Linked DNA regions of Homo sapiens: regions 1 and 3 are each linked to region 2. The links are contacts of gene promoters, found by promoter capture Hi-C in blood cells and fetal thymus (Javierre and others, 2016). All regions are on one chromosome and are shown on one strand. The core of a region is centred on a gene start or on the middle of the fragment in contact, and the rest is flanking DNA. Distances in the headings are between cores, read along the strand shown. Region 1 holds the start of C4orf33 (chromosome 4 open reading frame 33). Region 2 holds the start of NOCT (nocturnin). Region 3 holds the start of ZNF827 (zinc finger protein 827).

The links. The method cuts DNA at HindIII sites, captures the fragments that hold promoters and counts their contacts. A CHiCAGO score of 5 or more calls a contact.
Region 1: a fragment that was not itself captured here is called in contact with the fragment with the promoter of NOCT in region 2 in 3 of 17 cell types (activated CD4 T cells, total B cells and total CD8 T cells); the score reaches 7.5 in activated CD4 T cells.
Region 3: the fragment with the promoter of ZNF827 here is called in contact with the fragment with the promoter of NOCT in region 2 in 2 of 17 cell types (non-activated CD4 T cells and activated CD4 T cells); the score reaches 10.0 in non-activated CD4 T cells.

Annotation. Positions count from the first base shown.
Region 1 is chr4:129,093,748-129,096,782 of GRCh38, forward strand. C4orf33 (chromosome 4 open reading frame 33) reads left to right here and starts at 2,405. Exons shown (of 6, transcript NM_001099783.2): 1 at 2,405-2,462. RefSeq lists an enhancer at 1-56. The HindIII fragment of the contact is 2,032 bases long and covers 422-2,453 here.
Region 2 is chr4:139,013,889-139,017,238 of GRCh38, forward strand. It overlaps NOCT (nocturnin), which reads left to right and starts at 1,893. Exons shown (of 3, transcript NM_012118.4): 1 at 1,893-2,283. The coding sequence starts at 2,094. RefSeq lists enhancers at 253-1,452, 589-1,510, 1,543-1,892 and a silencer at 2,033-2,332. The HindIII fragment of the contact is 5,482 bases long and covers 670-3,350 here.
Region 3 is chr4:145,937,136-145,940,123 of GRCh38, forward strand. It overlaps ZNF827 (zinc finger protein 827), which reads right to left and starts at 1,688. Exons shown (of 15, transcript NM_001306215.2): 1 at 1,230-1,688. The coding sequence starts at 1,272. RefSeq lists silencers at 31-440, 561-630 and an enhancer at 1,005-1,064. The HindIII fragment of the contact is 1,765 bases long and covers 1,430-2,988 here.

The sequences.
Region 1 (3,035 bases), core at 188-2,687, 9.9 Mb before region 2:
AAACTGGTGGGACAGTGTCTCCAGGTAGTGAGGCCCAACCTCTTTAAAACAAACAAACAAACAAACAAAAAACCAAAATGCAAACGTGAGTAGAGAATGAAATACACAGTTTAAATGCCCTCACTATCTTTGGGTTACTAATATACTAAGCCTTTCTGGACTAAGTAAAAGATGCAGGTTCCTGCGGCTAGGGATAGAAGCCAGACTGGCGTCTTCAGAATCTCCCACCAAGGCTGTACCTCTGGAGGAGTTCTAGGTTTGGATTTGGTCATCTCAAGAAGGTAAGTACCTTCTCGGTCTTTGTGGGTCTTTAGACAAAGGAGACAACTGTTGTTTAAATATTTAACTGTGTAGTAATAAAGCGTGTAGTTAGAAGTACTCAAAAGATCTTGCAAATTCAGCAGCTACTTCTTCAAAGATAAGCTTGTTTCCTCAAATATAAGGAAAGATAAAAGGTACTTTTTTTTGCAAAAAACAAAACGGTAAAACTTACATTTGTGGATAGATTACAATTTTCATTTTTGAAAATTAATTTTGTCTGGACTTAAAACGTATTTTTTTAAAAAAAATCATTTAACATTAGAGGAAATCTCACCACTAGCAACAAAAATGTTAACTTGAAGCTAGCCACTAGTTTTGTGCTTTTAATAAATTGTATTTTTATGGACTGAAGTAAAGTTTCACTAAACAGGCATGTCATAGATGCAGCTTGATTTGGCTTTCTGTTTAACGGCTTAAGAGTTTTGTTGTCCCGTACTCATAATGTCATATAAACAAAGTAACCTTAGCGATATGTGTTAAGAAATTTTAAAAATGTATTCAAATATATGCAGTTAGGCATCTGAAGGCCTTACTCAATACTCACTGTTAATAGAATGAGATGGTCCCTTCCTCTAAAGACTAGCTGTTAAATATGGATGTGTAGCTTAATAATCATTGAAAAGGTCTAATCCAGCTTTGAGTTGGTGATAATTGAACTTGTTCTGATTTTTAGTAGCTATAACGTTTACACAAAAACTTTTTGTATAAACGTTATAGCTAAGGGAAAATTGAGTGTGCAAGGTCCAACTCGTTTTTGAAGTTCAGTATATGACTCTTTCTTCATAAACATCTCACTGACTCTCCAAGGACTTGCTTGTAACTTCTCCCACATTTGAACCTTGTATATTGTCGTATTTCTACTTGGCATCAAATAAATAATTATAGACTTAACTCTACGCTTACACCCAAACTGGATGGAAGCAAATACCTTCTGGCTATAACTGATGAGTGGTATTTACATAAAGTGAATATCTCAGGTGAAAACTTTTATGTCTGCACTCGAATTTTTTAGCTTACATGATCATAATTATGATCATGATAGTTTTTTGTTTTTGCGTTTGTGTTTGTGGTTACAAGATTTTAGTAGTTGAATTTTAATGGAGTATTTTCAACATAAGTTTCATCATTAGGAAACAAAATTGTGATGATTTCACTTATCCTTAAAGGATCCCCTCTCATGTTCCTCCTTTTCACATCTCCTGAGTTCTTTATCCACTTCTCCCAAGGTAGGTGCCACCTTAGTACTTACTTCATGCTCCTTCCTGCATTATCTGTCATGTTTTGTAGTTTGTCTCCAGGCTCCATCATAATACCTGGAACACAGAGTTGATTAAATATCTGATGGAAGGAATGAAAGAATTCAGTGGATGTTCATGAAAAGTATCTATTAGTATAAATTGAATACAAGGAATGACAAGCAGAAATGTATGTAGTTTGTGTGTAACTCTTGTCAAGCCACCATTTAATGTTTTTATATGACTTTTCTGCAATAAAGAAAACCCCTAAAGTTGTATAGATTGAAAATTAGTGACATTTCACTAACATTCATTTGGTTGATCAATTGACATTGAGCACCCAGTACTATGTGCAAAGTACCAGGAAGAATACAAAGTTAGAAGTTTAAGCAAGGATCAGAACAGATCACACAGCTGGCAAGTGCCTGAGTTGAGATTTGAACCCAGGCAGTATGGTTCTAATTTCACAATTGTTAACTGCTATGAACATGCCTCCCCAGGAATATAGTATAATATAGTTTATAGCTGGTATAATATAATTTATAGTTTTTGCTTATATGGCCAGTTAGCCTTTAGTTGTATTAAATGAAATATTTCTGTACATGTTATATTGTAATCTTAATGATTTACAGTTGATTTTCAAATTATTGCACAGTATTTATATTTCTGAATCACCCTTCCTTCTTCTAGGAAACCACTCATACTTTAGTGGAACGATTAGAAGTCTTCAGTTGTTCATGTGTGGCCCTTCAACATCTTTCTTTCCTAGAAAAATCAAGCGTCTTAGCTTCAGTGTTCTAAGCCCCTCCCCCAGAACGTGTAGGCAGCTGGGTGGAGCCTAAAGCCGAGCCCTCTCCTGTGACCTCGGCTGAAAAGAAGAAGCCAGTGTTTGAGAAAAGCTTCGTGGTCTGTGTTCTCTAGTTGTTCCCTCTTCTCTCTGACATTCCTTTCGTCGTCGCCAGGTCTTGTTTTTCGCTTGATCTCTGGAAAATACTGAAAAGTATTTTACTTTTCAGCTGTCTCCTGCTAAGTGAGCGTACTCCCCCTTTCAGGCTGACTTCCTCATTTCTCCGTTTCCCTGATAAATGGGCGGGGCCTCGGGGAGGTATGGAAACTGAAAAGAAATCATTATTGTAGAAAAACTAAAGAAATTTTTGTTGAGCAGAGGAATTTGGAAATTTTCCTTGCAGATCATTTGGTTGAGAAAACACCTTTACCATAACTTATTTCTTTTAAACTTTGCGGACATTTTTTCTTTTCCTGGGTTCTTAATGCTCCAGTGTTCGGTCTCCTTTCTCTTCCTTCGTTTCCTTTTAGAGGTCTTTCCAGGTAAAGATAAAGCAATCAGAACAATTGAAAATTTATTTTTTTAACTTGTTTTAAGAGCAATTTGAAGAATAGAGGTTAAAAGTAGAAACATACAGAGTAACAATAAATATTGTATTAAGAAAGTCTAAACAGCCAAACTTAAAATTGCAT
Region 2 (3,350 bases), core at 643-3,142:
TGAACAGACCCTTTCACAAGATAATGTGCAAGTTCATCCCTGTGCCCTGATCCATTCACTTTCCCTAGTCATCTCCTCAACAGAATGCCTCTGCTCCCCTCTCCCCAAGTCTGTTGGCCAGGATGGTAGACAAGCTTCTGAACCCCGTTGGGGGTGTGTAATCACTCTGTGATTCTCCCCATGTACATGTTAATAAATGCATATGCCTTTTCTCCCATTAATCTGCCTTTTGTGAGTTGATTTTTCAGCAAACTTCAGAGGGCAAAGGGAACATTTTTCCCATGGTCCCTATACCCATATATACCCACTACCTAGATTCAAAATCAACATTTTGCTATATTTGCAAAACACTTTTCATAGGCTAATTTTATTATCACCTTTTTAAAAAAATTCTTTTTACAAGTACTGCTCCTTGTGGAGCAGGACTACTCGATAGACAGTGTGCCCAGAGTAGCTTATTATCATTTTTTATTTCACCTAATGACTAAGGTATGATTCTATGTTTTATAGATAAGGAAACTGAAACTGAGGCTTTAATGACTTCCAAGGAGCTTGTCTGCCAGAAGTTGTAATCAACTTGTGCCAGCTGATCTGTCCACACCCTCTATCCACAGGTGTTAGATATGTAACCTAGGTCTGAAAAATATTTAGAATATTCTTGTGATGAAAAGCTTGCAATTCCACAACACAGGGGAATCAGCAAAATCATGGGAAAACCAATAGAATACATTTCTAACTCATGAATCATTCAGAGAAAAATCCAGTCTTGGGTTTTCCCTCCCCCTCATCCCATTTCTATTCCTGATTAGTCATCATTTCCTGCCCAGCCTGTCTGAGATGTTTCTTCCATCCTTTCTTTTCCAGTAACAGTAACCTGGTGCGGGTCTACAGTATCTGTTATCTCAGCTGATTTCCTTTCTGCCTTTTCATGAACCAGAGACATGTGATTTCCAATTAAAGCACAGCCCTGACCATGTCTTTGCTCAGCTTACAAAACGTCAACGGCTCGCAGCTATCCACCGAATTAAGCCTACTATAATCCCCTTCCTTCCACACTACAACCTATCCACGCATCTGTCCTCTTACTCCTTAGCTTCCATCTTACATGACTAAGAGTTGTTTCCCCAAATACACCCTTATTTACTTTTTTCATTTATAACTCACCACCACCCCCTCCAAAGTTTCACGTGGGTAAATTCTAGACCTCCACGTCATAGGCCAACTCAAATGCCAATCCTTCTAATGAACCTTCTAGAGAGCCCGGGCCTGTTGTCATCTCTATAGCCAATCTTTGGCATCTTGTGGCAATAATCTCATTCTACCTTGTAGAGCTTTCTGGTCTGACTTCCCTTGCCACCTTCTGCTCCCTTTGCCTAAGTATAACACTTTTGAGGAAAAGAACGCTGTTTTAATCATCGTCGCCTCGCCCACAGGCGGTGCTTTATTGTGCTTAATATCGTTTAACGCATCACACACTGCCGAGGGGGTCGGAGGCGGACGCCTTTTGCTGTATCCACACAGACCCGCGCAGGCACACACGTAGGCCGTCTGCCACTCTGACAGACACGTGTCCCCTGGGCCACAGCCCTGGAACTGTCTCGGGATTCCCAGCCTGTGGGCGCTTCCATGCTGGCCAGCGGAAGGGGACGCTTTTTTCTTCAGAACAGCTCCAACGGATACCTCTTATTTTAGACCGCCTGCGGATTCTATCTATAAATCAGCCTAAGCCCCGCTTCCTTTTAAAACAGGATTACGCCGGGTCGAGGGAGCCTGGCGTGGCCGCGCAGTGGCCGGGTCCCGCGGATTCCCCTCCAGCTCCCGCTTGGTAGCGCCCGCTTTGTCAGCGCGCAGCGCTCGCCGGGCGCCCTGCAGGTCTCGCCAGGTCTCACAGCAGACGGTGCCGACGCAGCGGTGTTGCACCTCCCTCTCCGGCTCTGCTGCCCGGGATTTCCCCAGAACCTGCGCCGCGCGAGAAGGAGCCTGGGAGCATCCGCCCACACTGCCCGGACAGTCGGCTCGACTCGGTGCCCTCGGCCCCAGCCGGGCTCCGCTCCTCGGGCGCGCGAGGGGCCGTGGTGGCGGCGGCGCCCGGCATGTTTCATAGTCCGCGGCGGCTCTGCTCGGCCCTGCTGCAGAGGGACGCGCCCGGCCTGCGCCGCCTGCCCGCCCCAGGGCTGCGCCGCCCGTTGTCCCCGCCGGCTGCTGTTCCCAGGCCCGCATCCCCCCGGCTGCTGGCGGCGGCCTCGGCGGCCTCGGGCGCCGCGAGGTCGTGTTCCCGAACAGGTGAGTGCACCCCAGTTCCGGGCGGAGAACGCCACGGCCGCCAACGCGCGGCCGCCACCTGGAGACCGCGCGGAATGAATGAGAAGCCCGGGGCTGCCGGTCGTGGAGTCTGGCCTGAAAGTGGGTCCTTTACCGGAGCAACCTTCTGCGTTCCCTTTTTCCTCTTTCCCTGTTCCCCGACTTGCCTGGGGCTTGCATCAAAGCTAGTAAGAACTGGGAGACTGTATTCAGGTTCCCGCTTGACCCTTAGAGGCCATGCTTTCAGAATTTCTTGTTCTTGACCGTTAAATTTCCCCCTTCCGAGGCCGCGAGTTACTATGTTGGTTACATTTTTTATTGCACGACTTAACGGAAATTTTTATGGAAAAAAAAATCTAAATGATGCTTATTTGCTTATATAGCTTTCATGGTCTAGATATTAAGTTTTTTTTTTAAGTCGTGATAATAACACATTGATTCGTTTTACGTTGTTTTTTTTTTTTTTTTTTTTTTTTTTTTTTGAGATGGAGTCTCACTGTGTCACCCAGGCTGGAGTCCAGTGGCACGATATCGGCTTACCGCAACCTCCCGCTCCCGGGTTCAAGCGATTCTCCTGCCTCAGCCTCCCGAGTAGCTGGGATTACAGGCGCCAGTCACCACGCCTAGCTAACTTTTGTATATTTAGTAGAGACGGGGGTTTCACCATTTTGGCCAGGCTGGTCTTGAACTCCTGACCTCGTGATCCACCCGCCTCAGCCTCCCAGAGTGCTGGGATCACAGGCGTGAGCCACCGCGCTCGGCCATTTTACGTTTCTTTGGATTTTTTTTTTTTGGAGGCTTCCACTCTTTATAGTTAACATCATTTTTTGTCCTGTGTATCTAAGATCTTGTAAAAGTGAGGCCTTAGTTTCACCAAGAGCTGTTTTCATACATCATAATAACTACCCTGAGTTTTCCTTTTTTGCTACCTCTGTTTCTGCCTGGGCACACATTACCATGGCCACAAATTACATACAAATTAATTATACTTTAAAAATTGATAAATTTTTTCTTTCAAAACTAGGCAATACATAACTTTTTTTTTTTTT
Region 3 (2,988 bases), core at 438-2,937, 6.9 Mb after region 2:
TGGGGGGTTGGGGGGAGCTGGAGAGGGAGTGGGGGAAAAGTTAAGAGTCGCGCAAAGAAAAGCCGGAGGGAGGGCGGAGAGGGACCGGGGGCGCGGGTGGAGGAGGGGAAGGGGACCGGGCCGTGCCGGCGGGTGTGTGTCTCCAGTTGGCGTGTGTGGCTGCCGCCGGGGAGGGCTGTGATGCACTTTAGTCCTGGACTCTGCTCAGGCTCGCCAAGGAGGGGGTCTGAGAGCCCGAGTCTCGCCCGGCTCCGTCTGCTCCGACTGACCCCGCATTTTATTGCGGCCAGGAGCCCTGCTCCTCCCTCTCCTCCGCTCTGCAGGGACCTCGCGCGCCGCGAGCCGCCCTGCCTCCTGCCTTCGCCTCGGCGCAGCTCCCGCACCCCACATCCGCCCGCCGCTGCCCGGCCTCGCCCCCCGCCCGGCCGCCCCGCGCCCCGGCGCGCCCCCTCGCCTCGGCGCCGCGGGAGCAGCCGCCCGGCGGCGCGTGTGTACCCGTGTGTTTGTGTGCGGTGCCCCTACACCCTCCCCAGCCGCTCCCGCCTCGCCCGCCCCCGACTCCCCTCCTCCGCCGCCGCCTCCTCCACCTCCGCCTCCTCCTGCTCCAGCCGCCGCCGCCGCTGCCGCCGGCGGCTCGGGGGCCGACCAACCCCGGCGCAACCTTTAGCCAGGGACGGACCTCTCCCTGGATCCTGTACCCGGCGGCTGCTGCGCGCCCTCTCCCCGACACCCCCAAACGCCATGTCACGGCCCCCAGCCCTCCGCGCGCCCCGACCCCCGCACCCTCAGGCGCCGGAATCCACAAGGAATTTTTTTTTTTTTAAGATTCCAACCTCTCCCACCTCCCCCCACCAAACCCCCGATAAAACCCCCGGCATCCACACTACTCCCCTCCTCCCTTCTCTTGCCCCCTCCCCCCAGCAACCCAGAGTGAGGAGGGGGAAGGGGAGGGAAAGGGAAAAAAAAGCCCGATCTCAAGGAAAAAAAGGGGGGGGGTGAGAGAAAGAAAGAAAAAGAGAGAGAGAATAGAAAGGGCACGGGGCTGATCATCACCAACATGGCTGCCTCAGCATAGACCTAAACGAGGAGTAACCCGGGCTGTGTCTTTGTCAGTTTCACCTCTGTAACCCTAAACTAATGCAGAAAACAACGGAGGAGGCTGCGGAGGGGAAAGAGGAGAGGGAGGGCGAGAAAATGGCACGAGAGGAGGTGGAGAAGGGATGACTTACGTGAGGGAAGGCGCTTGGGCTGCTCCTGCTTCCTCCTGGGCATTTTCCCCCTTTTCTCACATTCTCCTCCTTGGTTAATGTGAGATCAAATAAACCCCCGTGGGGGCAGAGAGGCAGACACTGGCAGGAGCGGGGAGGTAGTTGGGGGGCGGGCGGGCGGGCAGGGGGAAACCCCTTCTCCGGTGTGTGCAATGGGTTGAAGCTTGTTTCCTGGAGCCAGAAGAGGGGTTTTCTTCTTTTCTTTCCTTTCTTTTTTCCTTTTTTTTTTTTTTTTAAATTTTTGGTCGTGCACCTGGCTTGTCCCCGAGCGTAATATTCTTCAATGGAAACGGATCTAATAGGTGTGAGTGTGTGTGTGTCCTATGCTCGCGTGTGTGATGGGAGGTATAAATAAATGAGTGCCGGTGCGGCGGTGTCTATGGCCGCGCTCTGTGTCTCCGAGCCCCTAACACTAATGTCGGGATCAAAGGGCAGCGGCGGCGGCAGCACAGCTCACAGCTCGCTCTCTTGCTCTCTCTCTCTCTCTTTCTCGCTCTCTCTCCTCTCGCGCTCTCTCTCTCGCTCTCTCTCTGTCACACACACACACACACAAGAGGCACAGACTGAGGGAAAGAGCGAGAGCTACACACACACACACGCACGCACACACACACACAGAGCAAAGAGGAAAGTGCCCCAAGGCTCCCAGGGCGGACTCAGCCTCGGATTTACAACCGCTCTGTCTGGAAAGAATGGGGGGCGCGCGTGCGGGGGTGGGATGGAGTTCTTCAAATTTATCCCGCTAGTCACCAAATCTAGGGGGAAAAAGTTTTTCTCACTCTTTAAACAACGATTAGTTCATTATTTTACTGACTTTTAAAAAGGAAATAAATTTCTCTCTTCACTTTCTTTTGTTTATTAAGCTACATTTTGTTCTGTATGAAATTCTGCAGGCTTTTGTCCCTACCCCATCACCTTAAATCTGGAGGTTATCGTCTCCCACACACTCTTCAAAAACATTCCAAAAAAACTAATTTAAAAAAAATGAAGACAACATATGGTGAAATCAATAACTTGGTTGACAGTTGACAGAATAAGTGCCCAGTTTTGGAGTGTCCACTGGAGTTAAAACTGAAAAATGCTCCTAAATGAACATTACAGCTACTTGACAAAGAGAGGAAAATAAGATTAGGTCACCCCTGATGGTTGCTTTAACTGCTACGTGATACTCCTAGAGTGCACACAGCAATCTTTACTTCGGAAATTCACTTTTTCCCCTGCTATATACTGCAGGTATATGAAGTTTACCCTGAAGCAATTCCAGTGTGCATTATGAGCCCAATATAGCAGTTTTCATTAACTGATACATACTTTCATTACCTTACAAATCACACATCTTTCTTCAAAGAGAGACATAAAGGAGAAAAATAGAAAAGGACGGGTCTCACTAGAGCACAAAAGGTACTTGGTGAAAGAGGACTGTTCTCTTTGTGACTTGCAGTCATTTGGATAAAAGTTCACTCAGAGGTTGTTAATGATTTAAACTCCAAAACCTGCTACTATAATTGAAATAAAAATGGTCTGAAGAAGAGTTGTTTCATAAAACTCTCTTTGTAAGAGGAAACTTTGAACTTAGCAGAATACATTATATGTCATGAGTCATGTAGCTAGAAAATAAAAAGGTGCATTATTTAACTACATCTTCCCTTTTTAGCTTTTTTAAAACTCTGACTCATCATCTTATTATGTTAAATATTTTCCTACCAATTTTTAAATAGAC